Regions from separate parts of the Homo sapiens genome. Here region 2 is linked to region 1. The links are contacts of gene promoters, found by promoter capture Hi-C in human tissues and cell types (Jung and others, 2019). All regions are on one chromosome and are shown on one strand. Each heading gives the region's core, a stretch centred on a gene start or on the middle of the fragment in contact. The rest is flanking DNA. Distances are from core to core; before and after follow the strand shown.

The links. Contacts are between HindIII fragments. The study calls those that stand out against the background at their distance.
Region 2: a fragment that was not itself captured here is called in contact with the fragment with the promoter of FBXL14 in region 1 in 1 of the 25 tissues and cell types used here (H1 embryonic stem cells).

Annotation. Positions count from the first base shown.
Region 1 is chr12:1,591,060-1,598,690 of GRCh38, forward strand. It overlaps FBXL14 (F-box and leucine rich repeat protein 14), which reads right to left and starts at 3,522. Exons shown (of 2, transcript NM_152441.3): 1 at 1,814-3,522. The coding sequence starts at 3,007. RefSeq lists enhancers at 1,476-2,079, 2,597-2,786, 4,157-4,226 and silencers at 1,997-2,046, 3,027-3,896. The HindIII fragment of the contact is 15,118 bases long and covers 1-7,631 here.
Region 2 is chr12:1,385,783-1,393,413 of GRCh38, forward strand. All of the region lies in intron 16 of ERC1 (ELKS/RAB6-interacting/CAST family member 1), which reads left to right. Among named protein-coding and RNA genes, the nearest start is that of LINC00942, 110 kb to the right of the region's middle. The HindIII fragment of the contact is 7,264 bases long and covers 1,169-7,631 here.

The DNA.
Region 1 (7,631 bases), core at 2,272-4,771:
TTTTTTAAAAAGTTTCATTTTGTTCAATTTCTTTAAATTTCCACGTTGTTGAAAGTTTAAAGCCAAACATTATATAAATCTCCAGTCTAATCACATTTCTAGAAACAAAACATGTCAGTAGTAAACCTTATACAGAATAAAATTCTACCCATGAGTTGACTCACCCCCACATAGGATGCACCAAACTCCACCTTGCGTCCTCTTAGAGTATACAAACAACACCTCCTACCTTGGCATGTACCCAAGCACACAATGCCTTAAAAATAATTCGCAGATACAAGGCTGTTGTTTTTTTTTTTTTTTTCAAAAACATACTTCATATTTCCTCTTTTATTATATAAATATCAGTTTAACCTTTTACTGTAAGAATATAAACGTTTTAAGAGGATCTTTGTTATTATTTATACAAATTCACAAACAGTACAATTAATTGATAAAGGTCTCTGGGTTTCTTTAACTCCATGGTCTTGCATGTTGCTGTGGAGGGTTCTAAAGAAATAACAACAAAAATCCAACGAAAATATACATCCTACTCAGAAGTGATTTCTTTAAAGCCACAAGTCCCAACCCCCACCAAAAGAAAGAAAGTCATCTATTCCTCCATTTAGAAACGGAATTTTTTAAAACCCACAAACTCCCATTTTGTTAATAGAACAGAGATAAGATATGAGCTTCATCACAGCCCCAGGGGCTCTGCAGGCCAGCTCTGCTCCTGTTTCCCACAGGAAGCCGCACTGTGTGACCTTTTTGGGGGGAAACTTGGAAGAGGGTGAGGGTAGGGCAGAATTTGCATATATAATCATCATTTTCAAGACACAATCTGCATCTCCAACAAAAACAACGGTTCAACTCTCATTGCTCCCACATATTTGTGCTATAAATTAAGATTTAGAAATAGGTCCTCAAATCCCAATGAACAAGGAGAAAAAGGAAATTATAGCCAGAATGTGGAAGTGGGGCACACTGGACGGATGGAGGCTGGGAAGAAGCCAACACAAAAAGACGGACAAACCCAAGGGCATCTTTCCAGTCTAGGCACAAACATGTTTCAGTCTCAAAATATCTCTCTTGTAGAATTCCAGGGCTTCAGAAAAAAAGTAAACTAAAACGAGGTAGCCAGACATATATATGTATATATATATATATATAATTTATATATATATAATATATAGAATATATTCAGCAGAAAAAAGGACCATGATTTCAAATTTTTTCCAAAAAAAAATTTTTAAACAGGAAAGAAGATTAAGAACATGAAATGAGCATGAATAGCAGAGTACTGTAAGAGGAGGAGTGATGAGAAGAGACTGGGATTAGTTACAAAGTGGAAGGGTGAAAAGGCCTTTGTAGCTGGGTTTGCTTTTTATACATTTCAAAATAAAAACCAGATCACAGTATTCAAATGAAAGCTGAAGTGAAAGCAGACATTTTCCTCAACTCCCCAGGGTTGAAAAGACCAGTCACTCCCCACCCCCATTTCCAGTCACAGCAGTGGGGATACAGTAGCTGAATCAGTCCTCCACCCCCTGCAGGGGAGTGGGTGGGTAAGCAGCAGAGTCCATCTCTCCATCCGCGGGGAAAAGGAGCTGGGAGTAGGGTAGGGTAGGAACCCCAGCTGCAAAGAGAATGGGCTGGAAGCCGGGAGGGGGCTGGAGGAGGGAGGAGGAAACGAGCCTGAGGCTTCTGTCATAGCCCCATCTCATCCGCTGCAATGATCTGTGCGTAAGTGTGCGTGTGAGTGTGTGGGGGCGGTGGTAATGGGAGGATGAACAGGGCGGGACAAGGGGAGCTGGTGCTGCCGCCCTCACCTGACCTTCTCACTGTCCGTCATCTGCCAGAGTCCCAGGTTGAGTACCTTGAGGCACGGCAGCTGCGTGATGCGCTCCAGGCCGCGCTTGGTGATTCGGGTGCAGCCGTACAGGTCTATGCCGGTGAGTTGGCTCAGGTGCTCAGCGATCAGCTCCAGGCCCTTGTCCGTGATGCGCACACACTGTCCAATGTTGAGCGTGCGCAGCCCGTGCATCTGCCGCACCATGCGGTTGATGCCATCATCACTGATGTGGCAGGAGCAGAGGGAGAGAGACTTGAGGCCATCCAGCCCCTGGGCTATGTAAGCCAGACTCTGGTCTCCCACCTTGTCACAGAACGAAACATCCAGCCCCGAGAGGCGCAGGCTGCCCATGGCCAGATGCATGATGCCCGTGTCACTGATGTTGTCACAGGAGCGCAGGTTGAGGCTGCGCAGGCTGCCCATGTGCGACAGGTGCAGGAGGCCAGCGTCCGAGATTCCCCCACAGAAGCTGAGGTTGAGGAGCCTCAGGCCCGTCAGCCCTCGGGAGATGTGCTTTAGAGAAAGATCTGTGAGCTTCTGGCAGTCCTGTAGCGTGAGCTGCTCCAGGCCCAGGCAGCCCTCCGCCGCGCTGCGCGTCATGCCGGCCAGGTGCCCGATGCCCACATCCGAAAGGTGGCGGCAGCTGCGGAGGTTAAGGCTCTTGAGGCGCTGCAGACCCCAGGCGATGAGCAGAAGGCCAGTGTTGGTGATGTTGCTGCAACCTCCCAGCTCCAGCACCTCCAGGCCCTTGAGGTACTGGGCTATGCGGCCCAGGCTGCTGTCAGTGATCTGCTTGCAGAGGCTCAGGTTGAGAGCGCGCAGGGAGCCGATCTCCTGCACAAACGCGTGGCCCAGCCCGTTGTCGGTGAGGTTGTAGCAGCCGCTGAGGTTGAGGCTCTCGATGTTGGCCATGCCCTGGATCACGTAGCTGAGGCTGCGGCGGAGGCTCAGGATCTGCACCCGGCGGATGCCCCGGGCCTGCAGGCTGGGGAACAGCGACGGGTTGGCCCGGCGCAGGTGCAGCTTGGCCTCCACCCCCCGCCACACCGACTTGTGGTAGGCGGCGTCCCGCCAGGCGGTGCACACCTGCGCCGCGCGCCCCTTGTCCCGGACGTCCAGGTAGCCGAAGATCATGGCCAGCAGCTCCGGGAACAGGCATGAGATGTGGGTCTCCATCTTCCTCCTCCCCCCTCCGCGGCGCTGGGGGGAGGAGGCGCGGGCCCCGCCGCTCCGGCCTCGGGCAGGCGACGAGAGCGCTTCTCCCCAGCCGCCGCCGCCGCCGCCGCCGCCGCCTCGGGCCCAACGGCCGGCCCCTCCCCGCCTTCCGGCTCCGGCCGCCGCCGCCGCTCCTCCTCCTGGTCCGTCCGTCCTTCCTTCCTGCCGGCTGCGCCTCCGGCCCGGCCCTCCCCCGCCCCGGGCTCCGCACGGCGCTCACATCCCGGGCGGGGAAGGCGCCTCGCTCTCGCTCCCGGAGGCCGGCCGCCGCCGCCGCCTCGGCTCTACCCACGCCGCGCCCGGGCCGCGCCGCTCCGCCCGCGCCGCCGCGCCCACGCCCCCTGCCGCATCCTCCGCCTCCTGCCGCCGCCGCTGCTCCGCGGGCCGGCGGGCGGCGAGGGGGCCCCGGGGGCCGGGCGCACGGGCTCCGGGCGCGGAGGAGGCTTCCTGCTGCCTTTGTCTCTCGCCCGCTTTTCAAACCTCCCAGCCCCGGGCCGCCCGCACTCCGCCGCCCAGGCGGGGGGACCAGGAGGCCAATCCCGGCCGGCGGCGTGCGTTCCTTCTCCCCCGCCGTCCGCGGCCACTTGGGAGCTGCCGGCCCCCGCACCAAGGACGCCGCGGCCGTCCGGCCGGAGCGCGGCTCGGCGCAGACCCCGGGCGAGCAGGCGGGCCGTGCGTTTGGTAGCGCCCGGGCCGGCCCCGGCTCCGCCGCCCTGCAGCGCGTCCCCTCCGCCGCTCCCGCTCCCCCGCGCCCGCGCAATGGTACGGGCCTGCGCTGCCGGAACTGTGGAGCCGTTGCCCTGGAAACCGAGTTCGGCCTGGTCCCGTGGCCCCTGATTTTTAACCCTGTGGGCGCCACGGGGGAGCGGCAGCTGTCAGCAGAGCGCCTCCCCACCCGGCTTCTTTTCACCCGGTAGCCCGTTATTGAGCCGTTCCCTCTCTGGGCCACGCCCCAGCCCCGTTCCTTCTTTTTCTTTGCTGTTGAAGTCTGCGCAGCCCCTTCCCACAGTTTACCCCTGCAATTCGTTACCCTTATTTCACACCCCTCTCCCTTGATTATCCCTGCGAGAGCCGCCTCCTATAGCAGTGCTCAATAATCGTCACCCCAACTCTCCTTTTCTTACTGTCCCTAATGCCCCTTAACGCCTCATTATCACACCCCCTGCTCCCCCGGTTGGGGCTGTTTACTACGACGCCTTTCTCTCCAGTCTTGTGTCTTAAATTGGAGAGAAACTCGGCTGTACTCATCTTAAACAATGACCCCCTCCAGTCGGTGTTCTAGAAATTTCTAGAATTATCCATGACTACTTCCTTCTAGCATCTTCTGATGGTTTCCAGACACGCTGTGTGTGTTTCCCTCGGTACTTGATACATCAAAACTTCCCTCTACTTCTGAACGCTGCTGCGCCACCAATGCCCTCAGTCCGCTTTGCTTACAGGGGAACAGCCTTCCCCTAAGCCTTGTTTTAGGAGCTTTCTCCTTGTCATCAGCCTTAGACTATCAGTTGTATGGCTCAGTTGTACTGATAGTCAATATATTCGTATATGCTGAATCCAATTTACTTTTTGATTAAAATGGAATGACAGTTGAACTTGGTTTAAGACAATCCAGTCGTGTCTGTTGGTTTATCAACCGTTTTATGGAAGCAGGGCACAATTCCATTCTAGGATGTAGCCCCTGGGTCCTAAATGTCCGTACTAAGGATAGAATTTCAGAAGTTTCATTTTAACTACCCCCAAACCAAGAATTTTTGGATCAGAGAAAATGATCCTCTGTATTTTAATTTATGGATCCACACAACTAGATACAAGACCAGCGGATTTATCAGAAAGGGAAAATGGTTTCATTGATTCTTTGAGGACCTGAACAAGATTTGGAAGGGGTTCCATATTCAGTGTAGGAGAGTAACTTTTGCCCAAGCAACCACTATTAGACCAAATACATACAGATTCAGTAATAGGCATAATACACCTTTTACACCCCTACCACTCCTCTTTCCTAAATCAGGAAATGCAGAAGCAAAAATTCTCGCCAGCTTGTTACCTCACCCACATTACACGCAGTGTGGAGCCCATAGATTTTTATAACCTTCTTGAAAAAATAGACTGTACTGTTAGTCATCCAGTACATCCAGATGTACGGTGGCAGTAAGTGTCACGATTCTGGGGTATGCCTGGGCTTCACTCTTCTCCTGGAGGTTATCTAGGCTTTTATTCTTCTCAGTCACTTCTGCCTAAACGTTTACCTTAAATTCTGCGCAAAAGTCACTTTTTGATTGTTCTGTGCACCTAGATGTGTTTGGGTTGATGTCAAGGCCTTAATCCAAAGCACCTTAGTGTAACTTAATCCTGCTTAATAAAAAACAAAGTACCCCACACATTTGGGGGGAATTTTAGACAAGGGGCCTGACCAGCCTCGGACTAAGAAGGAGCCTAATGGTTTTCCTTCTCTAGAAAGGCCCTTGTTCTCAAATCTGAAGAGTCATTCAGAGGTATCTGGAAGCACTTTCTCTAGAAGTTGGCCATCTGGTCCTCGTTCTAACAACAGTTTTTCTTGAATTCTAGAATCTTATTAACACAAAGCCTTTTATTTAAGGCACTCAAGTATATATTATAAGGATTTTCAGCAATATGACTATTTTCACCTTCAATAAATAGGAAAATATAGCATCAAGAAGCATCACAGAAAAAGCATTCCCGGGGAAAAGGAACTAGGGCGTAGAATGAGCCCTATGCCGAATCTGAACACCTGGTGACTTTATGCTACTGAGGAAACGACTCTCCTTTCTGGGTCTCGGTTTCCTTGTGTAACACCAGGATGATTTGACTAGGTAATCTTCAGGGACCTTTCCAGTAGGAACACTCTGAGGCCAAGAGCCTAGCATACTGTCTCCTTAACCCATGGAACAATTACACATTGTTCCTAATGCAGGCTCCAGATATTAAGAATAACTTCGAATACAATAACTTCCTGGGAGCTTTGGTTTATGCTCAGACTTAGGACACAAAAATATATGAAGAATATGTATAGACAGGAGACTCTGATTGTCTGGCAAAGATGTATACCAATGTAGAAAATCCTGTGGCTTGCTCTTCATATTTTTAAAACTGGTTGAGATTTTTGTATATGATTTAACAAGTTGCAACCATAAGTTTTTTAACTAGCCTATTTAAAAGCAGAAATGATAGCCTTGTGTAGGGAGTCTCTCCAAAGCCTTACAAAGAATTTTTTTTTTAATTCTAGATTTTTCAGATGGAATGTGCTTTTCACCTGGGTAGGGTGGGAAAATTGAGAGGCCCAACCCAAAGATCAGGCTTACCTAAGGATTCATACTTTCTCCTTCAGAAGGGGAAGACCTGGCAGGAAAGATCAGAAGAGCTCTGTAGCTTTTAACTCCTCATTCAAGTATATATATATATATATATATATATATATATATATATATATATATATATATCTCCAAAAATAGTGGCCCAGAGTCTAGTTTATGGGTTGGGTCAGAGGAGTTAACATAGGCCGGGCAAAGTGGCTCATGCCTCTAATCCCAGCATTTTGGGAGGCCGAGGCGGGATGATCACTTGAGGCCAGGAGTTCGAGACCAGCCTGGCCAACATGGTGAAACCCCGTCTCTACTAAAAAAAATACGAAAATATTAGCCGGGCATGGCAGCACATGCCTGTAATCCCAGCTACTCGGGAGGCTGAGGCATGAGAATCGCATGAACCCAGGAGACAGAGGTTGCAGTGAGCTGGTACTGTGCCACTACACTCCAGCCTGGGCGACAGAGCAAGAGACCTTGTCAAAAAAAAAAAAAAGTTAAAATATTTTGTGTCTATTTTCCTTGAACTCTAGTGTATCTATGGCACAATGCCTGCTATGTAGTAGACATTTTGTCAGTGTTGTTGAACTGAAGTGAATGAGATGGATAATATAAATAATAATCTCTTTATGAAAGACTTCATACATATCGAAACTTCTTCGAGAGTTCTGGGCAGCCATTAGTAATCTGAGGTTTATAATAAAATGCTGCCTTTCCAACTTCAAGGTTTCTTGAGAGTAACATTCATTCTGTTGCTCAGTATTTCTAAGTAGGAGAGCATCTCTCTCGACACTTCTTCGTGACAGAATATTAAAGATAAGAGAGGGTGAGGATTTGATTCACTGATTGCAAATAAAAGATTTAAGCAGAAACAACAACCAAAAAAAGCCCAATTTAAAAATGGGCAAAGGGTTTAAATAGACATTTCTCCAAAGAAGATACACAGGTGATCCACAGCACATGAAGAGAGGCTCAACATCATTAGTCATTAGGGAAATGCAAATGGAAGCCACAGTAAGATACCACCTCATATCCATAAGGATAGCTACTATTAATAAAACAGAAAATAACAAGTATAGGTGAGGATCTGGAGAAAGTAGAATCCTGGTGCACTGTGGGTGAGAATGTAAAGTTGTGGGCCAGGCACAGTGGCTCACACCTGTAATTCCAGTGCTTTGGGAGACTGAAGCGGGAGGATTGCTTGAGCCCAGGAGTTCAAGATCAGCCTGGGCAACATGGCAAGACCCCATCTCTCTTATAAAAAA
Region 2 (7,631 bases), core at 3,551-6,050, 200 kb before region 1:
CTCTTCTTATGGCTGTGCACTGAAGTAACTATTTCTCTTAATACATATTTTAACAATCTCAGATGAGACTAAGTGGGTCTCTTACTTTTGTGTCGTCTAGTAAGGAGCCATAACTGAAATATCCTCCTTTTTATTACCATAATGATATAACTATAGGAAAAGAAAAAACATGAGCCATGATTGACAGAAATTACTCTCCTTGTCAGAGATCATTTCCTCTGTTGCTTAAAGCTTCTTGCAATGCAGCCCTTTTTTTTTTTTTTTTTTTTTTTTTTGAGACAGAGTCTTGCTCTTTCGACCAAGCTGGAGTGCAGTGGCACGAGCTTAGCTCACTGCAACCTCCGCTTCCTGGGTTCAAGCGATTCTCCTGCCTCAGCCTCCCGAGTAGCTGGGACTATAGGTGCCTGCCACCATGCCCAGCTATTTTTGTATTTTTAGTAGAGACAGGGTTTCACCATATTGGCCAGGCTGGTCTCGAACTCCTGACATTGTGATCTGCCCACCTCAGCCTCCCAAAGTGTTGGGATTACAGGCGCAAACCACTGTGCCCGGTCACAAAAAAAATTTTAATTGAAATGCATGCAGCCAGGCATGGTGGCTTATACCTGTAATCCCAGCACTTTGGGACGCCAAGGCAGGCAGATCACTTGAGGTCAAGAGTTTGAGACCAGCCTGGCCAACATGGTGAAACCCCGTCTCTACTAAAAATACAAAAATTAGCCAGCCATGGTGGTGCACACCTGTAATCCCAGCTACTCCAGAGGCTGAGGTGGGAGGATCGCTTGGATCCAGGAGGCAGAGGTTGCAGTGAGCCAAGATTGCACCACTGCACTCCATCCAGCCTGGGCAACAGAGCAAGACTTCGTCTCAAAAAAAAAAAAAACATTAAAAAGTACACATGTCTAAGTATACATGTCAGTGAAATTTTACACACTTATGTAACCAGCATCTACATCCAGGAAGCAGATGATTGCCGACACCCCAGCAACCAGTTCTCACACTCCGTTTTCAGGTACCATCCCCTGCCTATTCCTGCAGGAGTAACTGCTCTACTGAATTCTGACAGTATTGATTAATTGTATCTTAAAAAATCAAAACTTAAAGATTTTCTGTCAACAGAGCAACCAGGGACCCAGAGGCAGAAGCCAGGGGAGCCACCACAGGCAGAGGGCACAGCCTTGAGTCAGAGGATTGTTCTCAGACCTTGAAACCTAATGGAATTTTCTCTGCTGGATTTCAGACTTGCTTGGGGCTGATGAGCCCTTTTTTTCTTCCAGTTTTTCCCTTTTGGAATGAGAATGTCTATCATATACTGGTCCCACCGTTGTATTTTGGAACCTGATAACTTGTTTTCTGTTTCGCATATTGACAGATGGAGAAGATGGATCATACTTAGTCTCCCTCATACCCAACTCAGATTAATTAGATGAGGAGATTTGGGACTTTCAAGTGATGCTGTTTAGATGGAATTTTGGATTTAGAGTTGTGCCATAGTGGGTTAAGATTTTTGGGGATACTGGAATGGGGTGAACCTATGTTGTGTATGGGACAGATAAGAATTTGGTGGGACTAGAAGGCAGGCTGTAGTAGATGGAATGCCCCCCAAAACATATGCCCTCCCCAAACTTATAGCCCCCAAAAAACATTATGTCCACGTCCAGTTTCTATAACCTGTAAATGAAACCATATTTGGATAAAGGGTCTTTGCAGATGGGATTAAATTAAGGATTTCAAGAAGAGATCATTCTTGATTATCCAGGTGGGGCCCTAACCCTAATGACAAGTCCTTGTGAGAGACAGAGAGAAGACAGATACAGAAGATAAGGTGATATAAAGGCAGAGGCAGAGATTAGACTGGGTGGCTATGAACCAAGAAATGTCCACAGTCACTGAAGCCAAAAGAGGCAAGGAAGGATGCTCCCTTAGCATCTCCACAGGGAACATGGCCCTGCCAACACCATACTTTTGGACTTGGGGCCGCTAGAACTGTGAGAGAGTAAATTTATGTTGTGTTTATGTTGTTTGTGATCATTTCTTACGGCAGCTCCAGGAAACTAACACATGGAGTAGGTAACACAGCTTCTCGAGTCCTTCATGTATGACAAGCTTGTTGCCCCTGAAGGTATTAGGGTTCCCCTTTATTTGAAGGAGAAAGGTGAATACATTATCTCTGCTTAATCACTAGCATTTGTTGATATATGCAAAGAAGACATTCTTAAGACAGCCTCGGGGCAGAAGAGGTCAAATAATATTTTTGGAGAAAGGAGAATACTAAGAGACTAATAAGAGTTAGCCTCGGCCGGGCGTGGTGGCTCACGCTTGTAATCCCAGCACTTTGGGAGGCCGAGGCGGGCGGATCAGGAGGTCAGAAGATCGAGACCACGGTGAAACCCTGTCTCTGTTAAAAATACAAAAAATTAGCCAGGCGTGGTGGTGGGCACCTGTAGTCCCAGCTACTCGGAGAGGCTGAGGCAGGAGAATGGTGTGAACCCGGGAGGCGGAGCTTGCAGTGAACTGAGATTGCGCCACCGCACTCCAGCCTGGGTGACAGAGACTCTGTCTCAAAAAAAAAAAAAAAAAAAAAAATTAGCCTCATGAATGAGCTAGAAAAGGAGCTCTTAGGCAGAGGGATCATTGTGGCCAGGGTTGCTGAAGCATGAAGCATCCTGAGATCAGGGAGCCATAGAAGGCTTCTTATTACCAAGTCTGCACTACTCCTGGGCAGTGACGTGAGACTCCAGAGCCAGGAGGAGACAGGTCACGGAGAGCCCTGGATTGACAATGCTGAGAGTAGCTTGGACTTGCTCCTGTAGGGGATGCCAAGCCATGGAGAGGCTTTTAGTCTCACCGATGTTTTCAGAGTTTTCTTTTATAGATAAATCAATCACTCTGGCAGCTAATGGAGGAAGTTAAGGGGAGCCTGGAGTAAGAAGATGGTAAGATTAAAAACAGGGAGACTGTTTAAGAATCTATTCCAGTTGCCCAAATATGAAATGATGAGGACAAGAATATAGGGTAGTTGAGATGGAGTAATGTATTCACTAGGCCATTCTGTGTATCAAACACCACCTAATCTTAGTGCCTTAACACAGTAAACGCTTATTTCTTGGTTACACAAAGTCCACCGCAGATCTTGCCGGCTCTATGAGGAAGCTGCCCTCCATGCAGCAATTCAGTAATCCAATTCTACTAAAAATTTCCTCCTTTAGCTCTTTCAGTATGAGGCCTTCTTGGTCACTGTGGCAAAGGAACAAGTAATTGGTGGTTCCCGTGCTGTTTCTTCTATGCTTGGGTCCCACGGTCACTACCCACAGACCACTGGCCAGTCAGATGTCTGGTCTGGCCAAGTAAGTGGAAGTGGTCTCCCTAATTAAAATGAGTAATCAAGAAGAAAGGCCATATATGGAAGAGAATATAACATGCTTATTTTTAGTAGAGTTGAATTCGAGGTTATTTATACCCAAATAGATACATCAAGAAAGCCGTTGGCTGGAGATGCTCCAGGTAAAGATGAGAGCTAGAAATGATAATTTTGGAGTCATCAGAACAGAAATACTACTTAAACCCATGAAAATGGAATAGCTTGCTTAAGAGAGAATATAGGCAAGTTATACTTACTTTTTACTGTTTTCTGACACATACTAAAATATTAACACAGGCCATTCTTTTCATCCTTACAGATTATAGTTCAATGAGCATATGCCCTCTGTAAGCCTGTTGGTAATGGATTTCAGAATTGGCTCTACTGGATATGCATTGCTAGGAGTTTTTATGCAGTTCTAGGGTTTTTAAGACCTTTTTTTCATGTCTTACATGTGTTGAAAATGCTTTAAGCATTTATGGCACAATATATCACAGGTGATTGTGATCTTATATACCCCATAGCCATTTTGCTGATTTGATATATAAATTAATAAAGCTCTGTTCCTGGAAATGAGGATAATGCTACATGAATACTCCAAAGAGTTAACATAAATGTAGTCTTGAAAAGCACTCCCTCAAGAAAAGAATTCTGTCCAAATCCTATTAATTCCCGGGTATTTTGCCTATTTTCCTTAAAAGCACCTTACATTAAAAAATCTGTTTTGCATTCAGTCTCTAAGCAAAAATATGTAGTGCCTTTAAAGAAACAACAACAAAAAAACCCTTGAGTAGGTTAATCTCTCCATTTTAAGTTACACACTTATTTCATGAACTAATCAAACTTGTCGTTAAGGCTTCATTAATTTCCTCTCCACTCATGGGGTGGGATGGTTGAATCATAGCGGGGCTGTGTGTGTCTGGAAGTGACCTTTGTATATTTGGGTGGTAAATTATACTTCAAAATACCAGTAGACATTTTATTAAAATTTTTATTTTCTTTGGTAGATTATTTCCTTCTAATTATAGTAGTAAACACTGGTATGTTATGATTAGTGATTAGCTTATAACAAACATCTAAACAGGGATAAGTCAGCCTGTTTAGCGATAAACCTGTCTCTTGATATATTTAGAACTGATCACTAGCCAGTATGGCTCCATATATTTCTAGGACAGTGTAACCCACAGTGACATAAATTAAAATTTTAAAAAAATCAAGGATACAGTAAATACCAACTGTCTATTAATATTGATTAATAAATCAATACATTTAAAAAATAATAAAGTTTAATTTTTCAAATTGATAAAAGTAAAAATTACTAAATTGATACATTACTGAGTTAATAAAATTAACATTTACTACTATTAATCTAAATGGGAAGGTGAAACATGGGACAAAGAATGAATTTTTCTGAACCTAAAAACTGGAAGGAAAGTCAAAAGTACTTACCAGAGCATGCTTAGGATGCCCAAAGGTACTGTCAGTTCATCTCCCGGAGGTGGGGTTAGTTTAGTCACCACCAAAATAAAACTGTGGTCAAACCATGAATTTTGGAGTATTAAATGAACCCAGTTGTGGATTCACTATGGTCAAATTACTACAAGAACTGGGACTGGAATAGGTTGCCCTGCCCTAGAAGTTTCCTAGTTGATTGAGTTGAGGTCTGATTAAGTTGAGGTCACTTCCAGACACACACAGTCGCACTCTGATTCAACCATCCCACTCCAGGAATGGAGAGGAAATTAATGAAGCCTTACTGACAAGTTTGATGAGGGAGGGAGCAGCTATGTTGGCATGTCTTCTAAGAGCTGTTTCTGACTTCTGGTGCCCAGCAGTAGTCCAGCTATGGTAGCTGATCAGTTGCTGCCTAATTACCTAATCCTATTGGCAAGATGAATGTTTCAGTTCGCTGCTGTGCCTTTAATCATAATTGTCTTTTATTCATTCAGTTTGAGGTCTTCCTGGTTCTTGGGATGTTGAGTGATTCTCAGTTGAAACCTGGACATGTTGGATGTTATGCGATATGACTCTGGGTCTTACTTAGACTTCTGTTTTAGCTGGTTTTCTTTGACACCACTCCAGCAGGGGAAGAATGGGGTGCTGCCTCAGTATTGCCCAGTGGAGGTAGAAGTCCAGTTTCTCCCACTTGGACCCTGCTGACACTCAAGGGGTGGAGGCTTCTTGTTACTCCTAGGTGGAGATGGGTATTCATGTCCCCACTAGGCTTCACTGGTGTATCCCTGCCTGGTTAGGGTAGGAAGGCCTCCACTAACACAGTGGGGGTGAAGGAAGGGGGGCCTGGTTACTGCTGTGCGGTAGTGAAGGTCCGACTCCACCAGGAGACACGGCTGTTACTGCTCCATGGAGGTGGAATTCTAGAATCCTCACCTAGTCTCTAGTGACACTGTGGAGGGGAGACTTCATTGCTGATGGTTGGAGATTATAGCCCTGCCTCCCTCGGCTTTCCCTGACACCTTCCAGTGGAGCAAGGAGAGGCTGAAGCACCTCCTCACAACCTGGTGAGCATGGGGCCCGCCGCTTGGTCTTTACTGACATGAGTGACAGTGGGACCACATGGTCTTTGGAATAGAGTGATTGTTGTCCCACAGGTTTCTATGTTGCTAGGCTGTCCCTTTCCTTTGGAGGCTTCTTTGGCTAGAGAGAGTGGGCTCCTGTTGAAGCTTTTTTGGTCTGTGCCTGTTGGCATTTCCTGGTTGTTGGCTTCTTCAGCTCTACCTCTGGATATATAAGGCAGAAAGATCCAGGGAGCTGCAGGTCACAGCACTCCTGACTGGTCTGCCTTCTCTCTGCCTTTTTAGTGTTTGTCTGTGTGTATAGTTCTTGTTGTACTTTTATACTTAGTGTGCTGGAGAAAAAAAAATATTCCTGATACTTCTTAAAGACAGTAAGGCAGACTATTCAGGGGACCACTGAGATGAGGATTTGTGTTAGAGGGCAGAGATTGGGCTCAACTCAGAATACACAAGGACCAATGGAGATGTGTAGCGAAGGAGCAGGGTGGGGGTCAGTGATGGAAAATTACTAAGAAGAAACGTCATGGCTGGGGGATTCTTGCCAGACCTACTCAACAGGAGTTGCTGAAGACAAGCCAGAGAGATGACATATTGATAGTGGGAGATGAGGAATTTGATCAGATCTCATGAGTGATCAGGCCTCAAGGGTGGGGATTTATTTTTGAAGGAAGACTTAAGCAAACTACCTTTTCTCTTTAGGAAAATAAAATGTATGTTCTGGGCTTAGATATCTAAGTAATCAGTAGGTTGAATTTTAATGCTTACATGCAGATAACCGATTTTTTTAAGTTATAATTTTCATTACTACCTCATCCCTTAGCCCAAGTCACATATTTACCTGTTTTGGAAAACCATACCTCTGGCAGCAGTTGAGCTTTGATGTCTAGTATCATTACTTTATTCAGCTTCCAATTCATTTTAAGTGGTCCTTAATGGGTATTCATTTCTTATCAGAATCAATCTATACCTGATACTTGTATATTTCTGGAAATCAAAGTTTTTCAAATATTTGGATTTATAAAATTATAAGTGGAAATATTTCAACAACTATGAAGAGATAGATAATTTAAGATACTTTTCTATAATTAACAACTTTTTTTAGAAAAGCCTGATTTTAATAAATGGTGGTTTTCTGTTTTTTTCTTCTACAGAAAAGACTGAAAGCCATTTAGCTCAGTTGTACAAAAAAGAAACTTTAGAGAATAGAGAAAATCAAGAGTGCAATAGTAGCTGTGGGAAAATTTTAACAATGTAACCACGTATGTTTGTACAGATACATATATACAGAGAAATCCTTTTATAATGAATAGTCAGAGTATAGGAGAAAAAAATGGTATTGGAGAGTTTGGCCTTATATCATTTGCTTTCAATCTGAATGGTTCAGTAAGAATCTAAAAATGCCTTTATATCCTCTGGGTTTATTTAAAGATACTTCACTGTATGTACACACAGGTGTATAGTTGGTTTATGTTTTGACTCAGTTATATTCTTTTCTTACCATGTATGGACCATGATTTTGTAAAAAGAAAAGATAAAATTCCCTCAGAACATCTAGCTTTAAGAACTTTGGCTGGGTGTGGTGGCTTACGCCTGTAATCCCAACACTTTGGGAAACTGAAAGGCAAGAGGATCACTTGAGCCCAGGAGTTAGTGACGAGCCTGAGCAACGTGGGGAAACCTCATCTCTACACAACAAAAATTTTAAAAATTAGCTGGGCGTGGTGGTGCACATCTGT